Regions from separate parts of the Homo sapiens genome. Here regions 1, 2 and 3 are each linked to region 4. The links are contacts of gene promoters, found by promoter capture Hi-C in human tissues and cell types (Jung and others, 2019). All regions are on one chromosome and are shown on one strand. The core of a region is centred on a gene start or on the middle of the fragment in contact, and the rest is flanking DNA. Distances in the headings are between cores, read along the strand shown.

The links. The method cuts DNA at HindIII sites, captures the fragments that hold promoters and counts their contacts. A contact is called where the count stands out against the background at its distance.
Region 1: a fragment that was not itself captured here is called in contact with the fragment with the promoter of ZNF12 in region 4 in 1 of the 25 tissues and cell types used here (dorsolateral prefrontal cortex).
Region 2: a contact is called between a fragment that was not itself captured here and the fragment with the promoter of ZNF12 in region 4, in 1 of the 25 tissues and cell types used here (dorsolateral prefrontal cortex).
Region 3: a contact is called between a fragment that was not itself captured here and the fragment with the promoter of ZNF12 in region 4, in 1 of the 25 tissues and cell types used here (dorsolateral prefrontal cortex).

What each region holds. Positions count from the first base shown.
Region 1 is chr7:7,644,854-7,647,644 of GRCh38, forward strand. The region is part of intron 4 of RPA3 (replication protein A3); the gene reads right to left. All of the region lies in intron 1 of UMAD1 (UBAP1-MVB12-associated (UMA) domain containing 1), which reads left to right. Among named protein-coding and RNA genes, the nearest start is that of UMAD1, 5.5 kb to the left of the region's middle. The HindIII fragment of the contact is 8,445 bases long and covers 1-2,791 here.
Region 2 is chr7:7,562,128-7,564,827 of GRCh38, forward strand. MIOS-DT (MIOS divergent transcript) reads right to left here. Exons shown (of 5, transcript NR_110084.1): 2 at 2,110-2,197. Among named protein-coding and RNA genes, the nearest start is that of MIOS-DT, 2.6 kb to the right of the region's middle. The HindIII fragment of the contact is 3,978 bases long and covers 1-2,700 here.
Region 3 is chr7:7,620,370-7,623,069 of GRCh38, forward strand. No RefSeq gene overlaps it. Among named protein-coding and RNA genes, the nearest start is that of UMAD1, 19 kb to the right of the region's middle. The HindIII fragment of the contact is 3,021 bases long and covers 1-2,700 here.
Region 4 is chr7:6,705,530-6,708,468 of GRCh38, forward strand. It overlaps ZNF12 (zinc finger protein 12), which reads right to left and starts at 1,418. Exons shown (of 5, transcript NM_016265.4): 1 at 903-1,418. RefSeq lists a silencer at 1,034-1,393 and an enhancer at 1,087-1,586. The HindIII fragment of the contact is 19,528 bases long and covers 1-2,939 here.

The sequences.
Region 1 (2,791 bases), core at 216-2,715, 940 kb after region 4:
ACTGTGTTGGAATTTTGATCAAAATTGCACTGTATCCTTGGATGTATTTCAGGAAAAGTAACACCTGAATGTCAACTCTTACTATCCTTGAGCCATTTTGGTCCTCTTAAAATCTTTCCAAAAGGTCTCATACTTTTCTACATAAAAGTTTTGACTTTTAGCTTAGATTTATTCCTAGATACCTTGTTTTTGTTGCTATTATGAATGGTATCATTTTTTAAATTAAAGATTTTAACTGATTGTTTTGGTATATAGAAATGCCATTTTAAGAATTTTCTATCAGTTTTTTTTGGAATTTTCTATTCATATTTGAATAATTATAGTTTTGTTTCTTAAGAATTCTTACATATTTTATTTATCTTTCTTACCTTTTGCCTAGGATAGAGCCTTCAGTACCATTTTGAATAGAAATAGTGTTTAAGTCAAGATGGGGTTTAGCTGCATAAACAAAAGTATCTTTAATGCACAAACGCTTATTCTCACATGTGAAAGAAGTCCACAGCTGTGCAACTTAGTACTTATGTGGTAGTGCACTAAGACTCAGGGCCCCAGGTTCTTTCTGTCTTTCTGTAGTTCTACATTCAATATCTAGTTCCATATTTATGGTTATCTCATAGGCCAGGTAAGTGATGGAGCTTCAGCTATCAAGTAAATCCACGTTCTATGTGGCAGAGAAGTGGACCCGCATTCAGCTTCCTTTAAGGAGTATTCCCCGAAGTCCTTCCCAACTTGAATTTCTGTTTATTAGATTAAGGAATTTTCCTTCTATTCCTAGTTTGATAAGCATTTTAATTGAATTGTTACGGAATTTGATCAAATGCATTTTTTGCCTTAATTGAGATGATTGAAATGAGTATGTATTTTTCAGTGTTTGAACCAAGCTCACATTCTTGGAAGCTTGGTTATGATATATTGTCTTTTATATATATTCCTGGATTTGATTTGCTGTTGTTTTTGTTTAGGATTTTTTTTTTTTTAATCTATGTTCATGAGTGAGATTGGTCTGTAATTTTCCTTTTTTGTATAGTCCTTGTCAAAATTTGGCATTATGGTTATAAGACAGGAGAATTCCCTGGACCCCTTTGTGGGACTTGGAACCAGGGTGTGGCTCGTTTGCTCGGCTGCCGTGTACTCAAACCCCTTACGGGAGAGGGAGCATGCAGGTGAGCAGGTGCAGGAGTTGGGGTGAGTGATTTGGGCCTCCAGCCCCATGGCAGTGTCTAGGGGCGTTACAGTGCTCTTTTAGCCCTGCCGTCTGGGAATGGCTTAAGTGTTAAATAGCTCAGTAGAGTCAGTGTGACAGCCTTTTTGGGTTCCCACACCCAGTGCATCCTGAATTCTTGTCTAGCATCGAGGAGGAATCAGGTTACATGGGCTTGAAAGATGGTGAATGTGGGCATTTTATTGAGTGATGGAGGTGGCTCTCAGTGGGATGGTGATACGGTTTGGCTGTGCCCCACTCAAATCTCATCTTGAATTGTAGCTCCCATAATTCCCATGTGTTGTGGGAGGGACCCGATGAGAGATAACTGAATCATGGGGACAGTTTCCCCCATACTGTTCTCGTGGTAGTGAATAAGTCTCACGAGATCTGATGGCTTTATAAGGGGAAACCCCTTTCGCTGGATTTTTTTTTTTTTTTTTTTTTTTTTAATTCTCTCGTCTGACACCATGTAAGACGTACCTTTTGCTTTCCGCCATGATTGTGAGGTCTCCCCAGCCACGTGGAACTGTGAGTCCATTAAACCCCTTTTTCTTTATAAATTACCCAGTCTCAGGGGTGTCTTTATCAGCAGTATGAAAATGAACTAATACAGATGGGGAGCTGGAGAGGGGATGGAGTGGGAAGATGATCTTCCCTTGGAGTTCGGCTGTCCCATGGCCAATCTCCTCTCTGACCGTCCCCAGCCAAACTCCCCTCGACACTCAGATGCTTCCTCTCTTCTCTCCTCTGCTGCACCATTCTGCTGCTCTGCCACTCTTCTGCTCATGGAGCCTGGGGTTTGGGGTTTATATGGGCACAGAATAGGGGTGACATATTGGGCCAAAAGGCAACATTTGGGTGCAAAAACAGCCTGTTCACATTTAGGGCTATGGGTCCAGGCTTAAGGGTGGAGCCCTCGCCAGGGACCCCACCCTTCTGCCGCTTGTCCGTATCAGTTACACTAGTTTTGTGAAATTAGTGTGGAGTGTTTCTTTTATTTATTCTCCAAGATTGTACATAAAACTGAAATTATCTATTGAGTGTTTGGTAGTGTTCACCTATAAAACCTTTTAGATCACTATAGTTATCTTTGACTAGAGCTTTAGACATTTCCCACAAGTTTTTATAAGCAGGTGTACATTAAGTTCTAGGTATTTTCTAGTTTTCAGCATATTTCTTTTTTGACCCATGCATTATTTTTGTTTCAAAATGTATAGGTTTTATTAAAGTTATTTTGATAATTCCCAGTGAAACTGCATTATAATCTGAGGGTATGGTTTGTCTAATTCTTTGCAATTATATGAGACTAATTCTTTGAAATTATGTGAGGCTTGCTTTAAGGCTTATTAGGAACATGGACAATTTTTCATGTGTGCTTGGCAAAAAAATGTATTTTCCAGTTGTTGGATCCAGTGTGTAAATTGCACTGTTCACATAATTCTGTTTTCTTTTTGTCTGCTTAATATCTCAATTATCGATAAATATGTGACATAGCCTATAGATGGTAGCATTGTCAAATTTCTCCTTGAAGCCCTGATGACTTTTGCTATATATATACATTTCTTTAAGAGACAGGGTCTTCCTCTG
Region 2 (2,700 bases), core at 185-2,684, 860 kb after region 4:
GTCCTATTTAAACATAATTCTTGGTATTGAGGTAAATCTGAATTCACATGATATGCTTTGTCAAATTTTTCCAAAAACTTTTTTTTTTTTTTTTTTTTTTGGAGACAGAGTCTCACTCTGTTGCCCAGGCTGGAGTGCAGTGGCATAGTCTTGACTCACTGCAACCTCTGCCTCCCGCATTCAAGCGATTTTCCTGCCTCAGCCTCCCAAGTAGCTGGGACTACAAGTGCGCACCACCATGCCTTGCTAATTTTTGTATTTTTAATAGAGACGGGCTTTCACCATGTTGGCCAGACTAGTCCTGAACTTCTGACCTCAGGTGATCCACCTGCCTCGGCCTCTCAAAGTGCTGGGATTACAAGCATGAGCCACCACACCCAGCCCTGTTTTGCTTATAATTTAAAGATTTAAAAAATATTACAAATCATATACTTGACAACTATGTAAATTTGTTTTGACAATGTTAGGTGTAATCCCAAAATGCATGAAGAAATGCATTGATTTAAAAAATTTATTTGGGGATATTCTAGAAAAGTTTTTGAAGGCCATTATTTTAAGATATCTCTGATCTTCTGATCTTCAACCTATGTGAAAAGATTACCTAAGCCATGGCACATGTTTACAGGGCTTCATTTCAGCTTGATACCTGCCCAGCCTCCATCTAAAAGCAAAACTTGCTCTCAGGTACAGACTGATTTTGTGCATGTGGAAATAAAAAGAATTGGGATTAGCCAGTCACAGACTTCACAAAATGTTCCAGTACTGTAGTAACTGAATTGCTGCCAGGAGCAGCTGTAAATAAGAAAGAAATTCGCTGTCCTTCAACTGCAATCCTTCTGGTTTTAAAACCACAACAAAAATCCTCTCCTGGATCACCACAACATAAATGAAGAATCTTAAAAAGAACATCCTGGCCAAGCGCAGTGGCTCATGCCTGTAATCCCAGCACTTTGGGAGGATGAGGCAGGCAGATCACTTGAGGTCAGGAGTTCGAGACCAGCCTGGCCAACATGGTGAAATCCCATCTCTACTGAAAATATAAAAATTAGCCAGGCATGGTGGCGCATGCCTGTAATCCCAGCTACTCAGGAGGCTGAGGCAGGAGAATCACTTGAACCTGGGAGGCAGTGATTGTGGTGAGTTGAGACTACACCACAGCACTCCAGCCTGGGCGACAGAGCGAGGCTCCATCTCAAAAAAACAACAATAAAAAAATCCTATTAGGAATACAAAAGCTTAAATTAAAAACAAACAAAATACCGAGACTGAACTACAGTGGCCCTAGGATCTATTGTAAAACGCATGTTTAGTAAAGGCAACTAGTGTAATCTCAGACCAGTCTGTCAAGTTCTCTGCTACGGTTTACTGTTTCCAAAGATACAAAGCACTCACTCAACTCAGTAAATATTTTTTGGATACCTATGCAACAGGTGCTAAGGGAAATCCAAAGTTCCATGCTAAAAGATTGCTACCTGCAAGGATCTTGGTTTAGTAGAGAAGGGGAATCAGTTTCCAAAAAGACTGAGAAAGGTGTCACTTATTCCTGTGAGGGGCTTTAGAAGAATTAGTGGCAATATGAAAAAATATATACTTTCACAAAGCTTGAGTGGAAAAGAAAGTTGAAAAAGGGACATTAGCTGGAGGAGGATGTAGAATAAATACGTTGTTTTAGGATTTATTCAATACATTTTTATTTACCACATTTATTAGGTACTGTTTTACATCCTGGTGATTAAGCAGAGAATAAAATAGACAGAGCCCCTCTGTTTTAATTAGGGAATTGGCTAAGCTGCTCTACCAGGTCCAAACAAACAATGATTTTTTAAAGAACAAAGTTTATTTTCTCTTGCATAATGGTCCAGAAGTCTGTGGTTGATCCAAGGGAGGAGGTGCCCCAGCTCCCTGAGATTAGTTTGGGACTTAGGCTAGTGAGAACAGCTTTGCCTTCCTTAATACATGGCTTCCATTTCCAGTCTGTATTTCTTTTTGCCATTTGCCAGACAGCAAGAAGAGGGAAGAGAAAGTGTATAGCAAGCAGCTTTCCTTTTAAGGGACATGATCCAGTTCTACTCACATCTTACAGGACATAACTTTTTGATATAGCCTTACCTTGCTGAAAGGGAGGCCAAGGAATGTCATGTCTAAGTAGGTCACCAAGTGCCCTGCTCAAATTTGAATGTAGAGTTATTTCCTCTTACTAAAAAGAAAAAAAATACAGAATGAAAACTGGAGATAAGGAGAAGACACAGTCTAGAAGATAACTATAGGAAAGTAAAGAGATGGCGACGTATGTGAAGTTGTGGTGTCATAAAGACAACAACAAAGGAGCTAATTTATAGGTAGTCAGTGACAAGTGAGCAGTCTTGAGTAAAGGGAGAGTATGAGTCATGTAGATTTCTGCATTCCAGACAGAGGGAATAGCTAGTGAAGAAGCCCTGAGGCAAGAGCATGCTTGTCATGTTTAAGGAACAGTGAAGTCACAGGGATAAAAGACAAACCAGAAGAAAGTGATGATATGCAACAAAGTGAATGAGACATGTCAAGAGAGGAAGTAGTCAAGAACAACAGAAGTTGCAAGAGTGAAGCTTTGGCCATTGAAACTGGCAGCATGGAGCTCACAGGTGACCTTGACAAGTGGCAGTTTCGTGGCATGGTGGGCATGAAGGACTGAATGGAGTGAATTCAAGGGAGAGAGGGGGA
Region 3 (2,700 bases), core at 161-2,660, 910 kb after region 4:
TATACAATGTAAAAATGTAATATATTGTGTATATGTACAAATGTACATTTGTTGTGAAATATTGTGCAATATAATTGTAATATTTTCAAGCCCTATATGAAAAAGCTGTTATTTGCATGACTGTATCCTATGAATAGTTATGGAAATGAATAAATAAGCTTTTTAGAAACAGTTTACAGAGTCATAAACACTTAAATATTTGCGCCTGAATTTTCTCATCAATTCTTTAGGTGTTTTCCCCTAAACAAAAGAATCTGTCTTTATTTTTCATGAAATCACTTTTCTATTTTGGCATACATTTCTTTTTCATTTTAAAGTCTGCAATCTTCATTATATAACCTGCAGGCTATATGAGTGAGGTAATCCACTCTCCCTCTCTGTTGGAGGGAGAATGTTTTCCTGTGCCACTCTGTAATTTGTTTTGCAACAATTATTGCTATTTGTAAGCATATCTTGTAATCACAAGATACATGTAGCTGAATTTAGAATCTGTTGAGAACACAGAAGGCAGCAGCAGTGTTTCTAAATGTCACTGACTTAATGATTTTAACTAATAAAATTTTTAAAGATTCAAATGCATCAACCCAAATCATCCATTTCTGAAATGTATTTTAGATAAATCCCTTGAAGTGTTCTTTTGTTGCAAATGGGTGTCATTATGCATTAGTTTCTTTCTCCAAATCCCTGCAATCCCCTAACCTAATTTCCAATAAGACAATCTATCAGACAATTTATCTCTAGTTCCTGTGTTTTAAAATTATGGAAGCTAAATGTTGTGTTCCAGATTGTTTAGGGAGTCATACCTAGAAGCATTTTGTGCCTTATACTTCTTTCTACTCTTTTGATTAAGAAAACATAAATGTGTATATAACTGGTATATTTTCCAATTATTTTAGGCGAACGTCGCAAATGTATTTTGGCCCTTTTGCGGGGGCCTATTTTTCCTTTTAAAAAGTACCAACCATTCAACTTTGAATAACAGATTATACAGTGGAGCATTATTTTTTTGAAAAATAAATTATCTTAGGTAGAATTTTAGAGTTTGTATATACTCATCATTTATTTTCCCTGTACTGCTTAAAATGTATTCTTAAATTTGTATGTTGGGTCAGGCGCGGTGGCTCACACCTGTAATCCCAGCACTTTGGGAGGCCGAGGCAGATGGATCACAAGGTCAGGAGTTCGAGACCAGCCTGGCCAATATGTGAAACCCCGTCTCTACTAAAAATACAAAACATTAGCCGGGTGTGGTGGCGCTTGCCTGTAGTCCCAGCTACTTGGGAGGCTGAGGCAGGAGAATCGCTTGAACTCAGGAGGTGGAGGTTGCAGTGAATCGAGATCGCACCACTGCACTCCAGCCTGGGTGACAGAGTGAGACTCCGTCTCAAAAAAAAAAAAAAATTATGTTAAATAGGTTTAGGTTATGAGATGAAGAGAAAGTAGGAAAAGCAACATAGAACATATTTTATTGCTATTGAAATGTTATTTTTATTTTCCTTGAAAAGGGATAAAGTGGGATATTAGTGCCAATTTTGGCAGGTGAGTGGTCTGGTGACAAATAACACAGTAATAAATTGATTGTCCCCTTATATCTCCACTGCTAACTGAAGTTTACATTGGGCAAAGAAGATAGAAGCCTTTGCAGCTGCCTTAAATTCTGCTGTGGAAACAAGTGTTGCATATATATATAATTTTTTTTTTTGAGTCACAGTCTCACTCTGTCACCCAGGCTGGAGCACAGTGGCGTGATCTCAGCTCACTACAACCTCCACCTTCTGGCTTCAAGAGATTCTCCTGCCTCAGCCTCCCAAGTAGCTGGGATTACAGGTGCATGCCACCACGCCCAGCTAATTTTTGTAGTTTTAGTAGAGACGAGGTTTCACCATGTTAGCCAGGCTGGTCTTGAACTCCTGACCTCAGGTGATTCACCTGCCGTGGCATCCCAAAGTGCTGGGATTACAGGCGTCAGCCACTGTGCGCAGCCATAAATATATATGTGTTACCTTGAGTTGTTTTCATGACTTACTTACACTGTGGAGAGTGAAGGAAATTGCTCAGTGGGTCAATTCCTTGAGGTCACCGAGTCCCAACAGAAATAGTCCACAAATTCCCCTGGTTTAGAGGCAATGATTTCTAATTCCTAGCTCCCCACTTGGTCCACCGTATGTTCATCTGGAAAACATTTAGTCATTTCCAAGGAGATTCTAAAATGAGGCAACTCGTGGTCAACTGTCTGCCTTTCATAACAGGTCAATCAAATATATGACCAACAAAGACATACATTTCTGAGCCATATGGAAAAAATAATTGACTAAATGGGACCCTGATCACTTAAAAGAATAGATGCGTCTCTTAAAAAGAAAATGTATTCTCTCATCAGTTCCAATATTTTCATAACATTTAAAGCTCTCAAATGCTAAATAAAAATATGAAAACATTTGAGTGAAATGTGGCACTGTTTCTGATTTTCTGTAAGGTTATGATAAATTTACTTGACACAATTTAACTTTAAATGATCATGTCGTGTTAAGCAGAATTAAATTAATGAAAATAAATGTCACCATCTAAATAATAAATATTTCCTAATTGAGTAGCTAAGGTAAAAATAATGCTAAATTATCTAGTTTTTTAATTAGTAATTATTCAACAGAAGATTTCTCCCTGCTAATTATCTTTCAAGATTCAGATGAAAAGATACTA
Region 4 (2,939 bases), core at 168-2,667:
CCAACATGGTGAAACCCCATGTCTAGTAAAAATACAAAAATTAGCTGGGCGTGGTGGCGGGCGCCTGTAACCCCAGCTACTCGGGAGGCTGAGGCAGGAGAATCGCTTGAACCCGGGAGGCGGAGGTTGCAGTGAGCTGGGATGGCACCATTGCACTCCAGCCTGGGCAACAAAGCGAAACTTGTCTCAAAAACAAACAAACAAACAAACAAAAAACAAACAACAAAAAATGAATTCTGTAATACTCATCTATTTTCTTACTCTTTTAAATAAAGATCAGAAAATCCACAGGATGCCCTAAATAAAGGAATACAGTCGGCATAATTGAGTCTTTATTTGCAGAAACTTCAGTGTGCTACTCAAAAGGATCTTTTATTGAAGAACTTACGCTCACTTAACTAGGATACGGGGGACAGAACACTGGCCTGGGAGATAAAACTCCAGAGTTCTACTATGAGCAACTCCACCCACAAAACCTCGGACAAGTCACCCACCTGCTAAGGCCCTTCCCCTAGCAAATGAGGCAGCAAGAGATAGTTCCTGCAGGCTGTTCCTGCACTACAACGTATGATTCCACAAGAGCAGACCTAAGGGGGAATCAGCACTTAAATGAGAGAACAGAGGTGCTGACGGACGTTTAGATACGGTAGCAATCTGGAGCAGAGAGAGGAGGAAGGGCTGCTGGGGTGAGGGGGGAGTGGAGACAACGTCCGCAGCTGAGGCTGGTGACACCCCCCACGCCCCCGTAAGCCTCGTCCTCGCCGGACCCTGCCTTCAAACCCAAACACACGTCACTCCTGCAAGCGATCGAGACCTTCCACTGTCCCTCACTCTAAGGTGCCCTACACGCGGTGACTTCACCCAGGCCCTTCTCGCCCCGGGCCCGCAAACCCACGACTTACCCTCCTGGGGCTCCGCAGCCTCTGCCCCACCGCTCCCGACAGGCCGGGGCGGGATTGCTGTCGCGGGCGCGCGTCTGCTCGCGAGGTCCCTTCCTGTCCACCTCACCAAGGCCGTTCTGCTCCAGAGGGGCCCGGGCCGGGCCTACGGGACAAATCCAGGCGGGGCGTCCCTCCCGGAGCCCAGATCCGTCTCCCTGGGGCTCACCGTCCTGCGGAGCCGGGGCCGGGCCGTCGAGGACGCACACGGGCCGGGCCCGGGTCCCGCCGCCCCTTCGCCTCCGCCGTCGTCACCGCCCGGCCGGCCCCTTGGGCCCCAGCGCCGTCGGCTCCGGGGGTCGTGCTCGGGGATCCCCGCTTGAGCCTCCGCCTGGCCCGCACAGCCCCGCGCCCGCTTGGGTGCCGGCCCGGCTCTTCGGCGCCCAGCCCCGCAGGCTCCGCGATTCTCGCCCACCGGAGGCCAAAGCCTGGGAACTAGGGCGAGCGGTGACCTGGGGACGCACAGGAAGCGAGGGCACTGCGGCCGCGGCGCGCATGCGCGAACACGCACACAGAGAGGGGTGCACATGCGCAGGAATGCACCGGAAGTCCGCCTCCCGGGACCCGCCGCCGGTCCCAGGACAAATACCGTGACTCTATTTCCCATGAGCCTACGCGCTCCCCAAATTTAGGAGCCATTTGAAATGTCTCTATCTGGTCTAGCGGTTAAGAGGCTCTATGCTAAGAGAATTGGCAACGCCGAACCCCAGACTCAAATTTCTCCTTAGTTTAAGGGAACGTCTTCATGGGGATGTCTTGACTATCTTTAAGGGAACGTCTAGAAAGTCTCTGCTTCCTGTAGCATCTCGTAGACCATGCCTGGGCCAGTCCTGCCTTACCGGAGAGCTCAAGGCTTAAAATCAATGTCCATGTGCAACCGTGACAAATGGAACAAGAGGGTGCATCATGCTAGCTTATGATCACAATGACACATTTAACGAAAACTTCAGTAAATAGAGCCCATGGATGAAATAATAGAGGATTAGCCTGGGACAGGATACCATCCTCGCCCCAACAAGGAGAAAAAGAATTCCAGCTTTTCCAAATCACTTTGAATTAGTGATAGCTAGAAAACTCAGAGAATATGTACAGAATTGAAAGAAGAAAAAAATTAGCCAGAACTCTACTTCCTGAAGAGGATGAGGCAAGCAGAAGAAGAAATTTGCGTCTTAATGGAAAACGAAGCACATTTAGAAAGCCATGTTACTTGATTCCAACCCTGTTCCTTATCTTTGAGGTATTTTACACCTCTTTGAAAACTGTAGGTAATCGATGCAAGTTATGTTCTGTCTGGTGGAAGTTGGTTGACTTCCCACAATCCCCACTAGAGAAAATGCAGTTTTGACTGCATTTCTCCATTTACATAATCATTTCAATATTCCTGATCTGAAAATATGTCTGTTTCTCAGATTCTCTCTCTCTCTCTCTTTTTTTTTTTAATTTTGAGACAGGGTCTCACTCTGCTGTGCATGCTGGAGTTCAGTGGCGAGATCTTGGCTCACTGGTTCAAGGAATTCTCCTGCCTCAGCCTCCCAAGTAACTGGGATTACAGGTGCACACCACCAAGCCCGACTAATTTTTGAATTTTTAGTAGAGATGGGGGTTTCACCATGTTGGCCAGGCTGGTCTTAAACTCCTGACCTCAAGTGATCCACCCGCCTCAGCCTCCCAAAGTGCTGGGATTACAGGCATGAGCCACCATGTCCAGCCCTCAGATTCTCTTTTGAACCAGTTATAATATCTGCCTGTTTCCTCTTGAATTAAATAAAATCTTTAGCATGTGCTCATTTTTATATCTGTATCAGAGTCATGATTTTACTTTTATGTTTTAAGGTTTTCCAGGTCTTTGCAGAAGTCCCTGATGGAATCACATGACTGAGCCAGGAAAACCTCAGGACTGGAGTGCCTCATGAACTGTTGAAGCCCAGGTGAATCTTTTCTTGGCTCCCAGGAATGAGTCCAAAGTGCCAGTAGAAATTTGCTGGCTTCTCATTTTTCAGT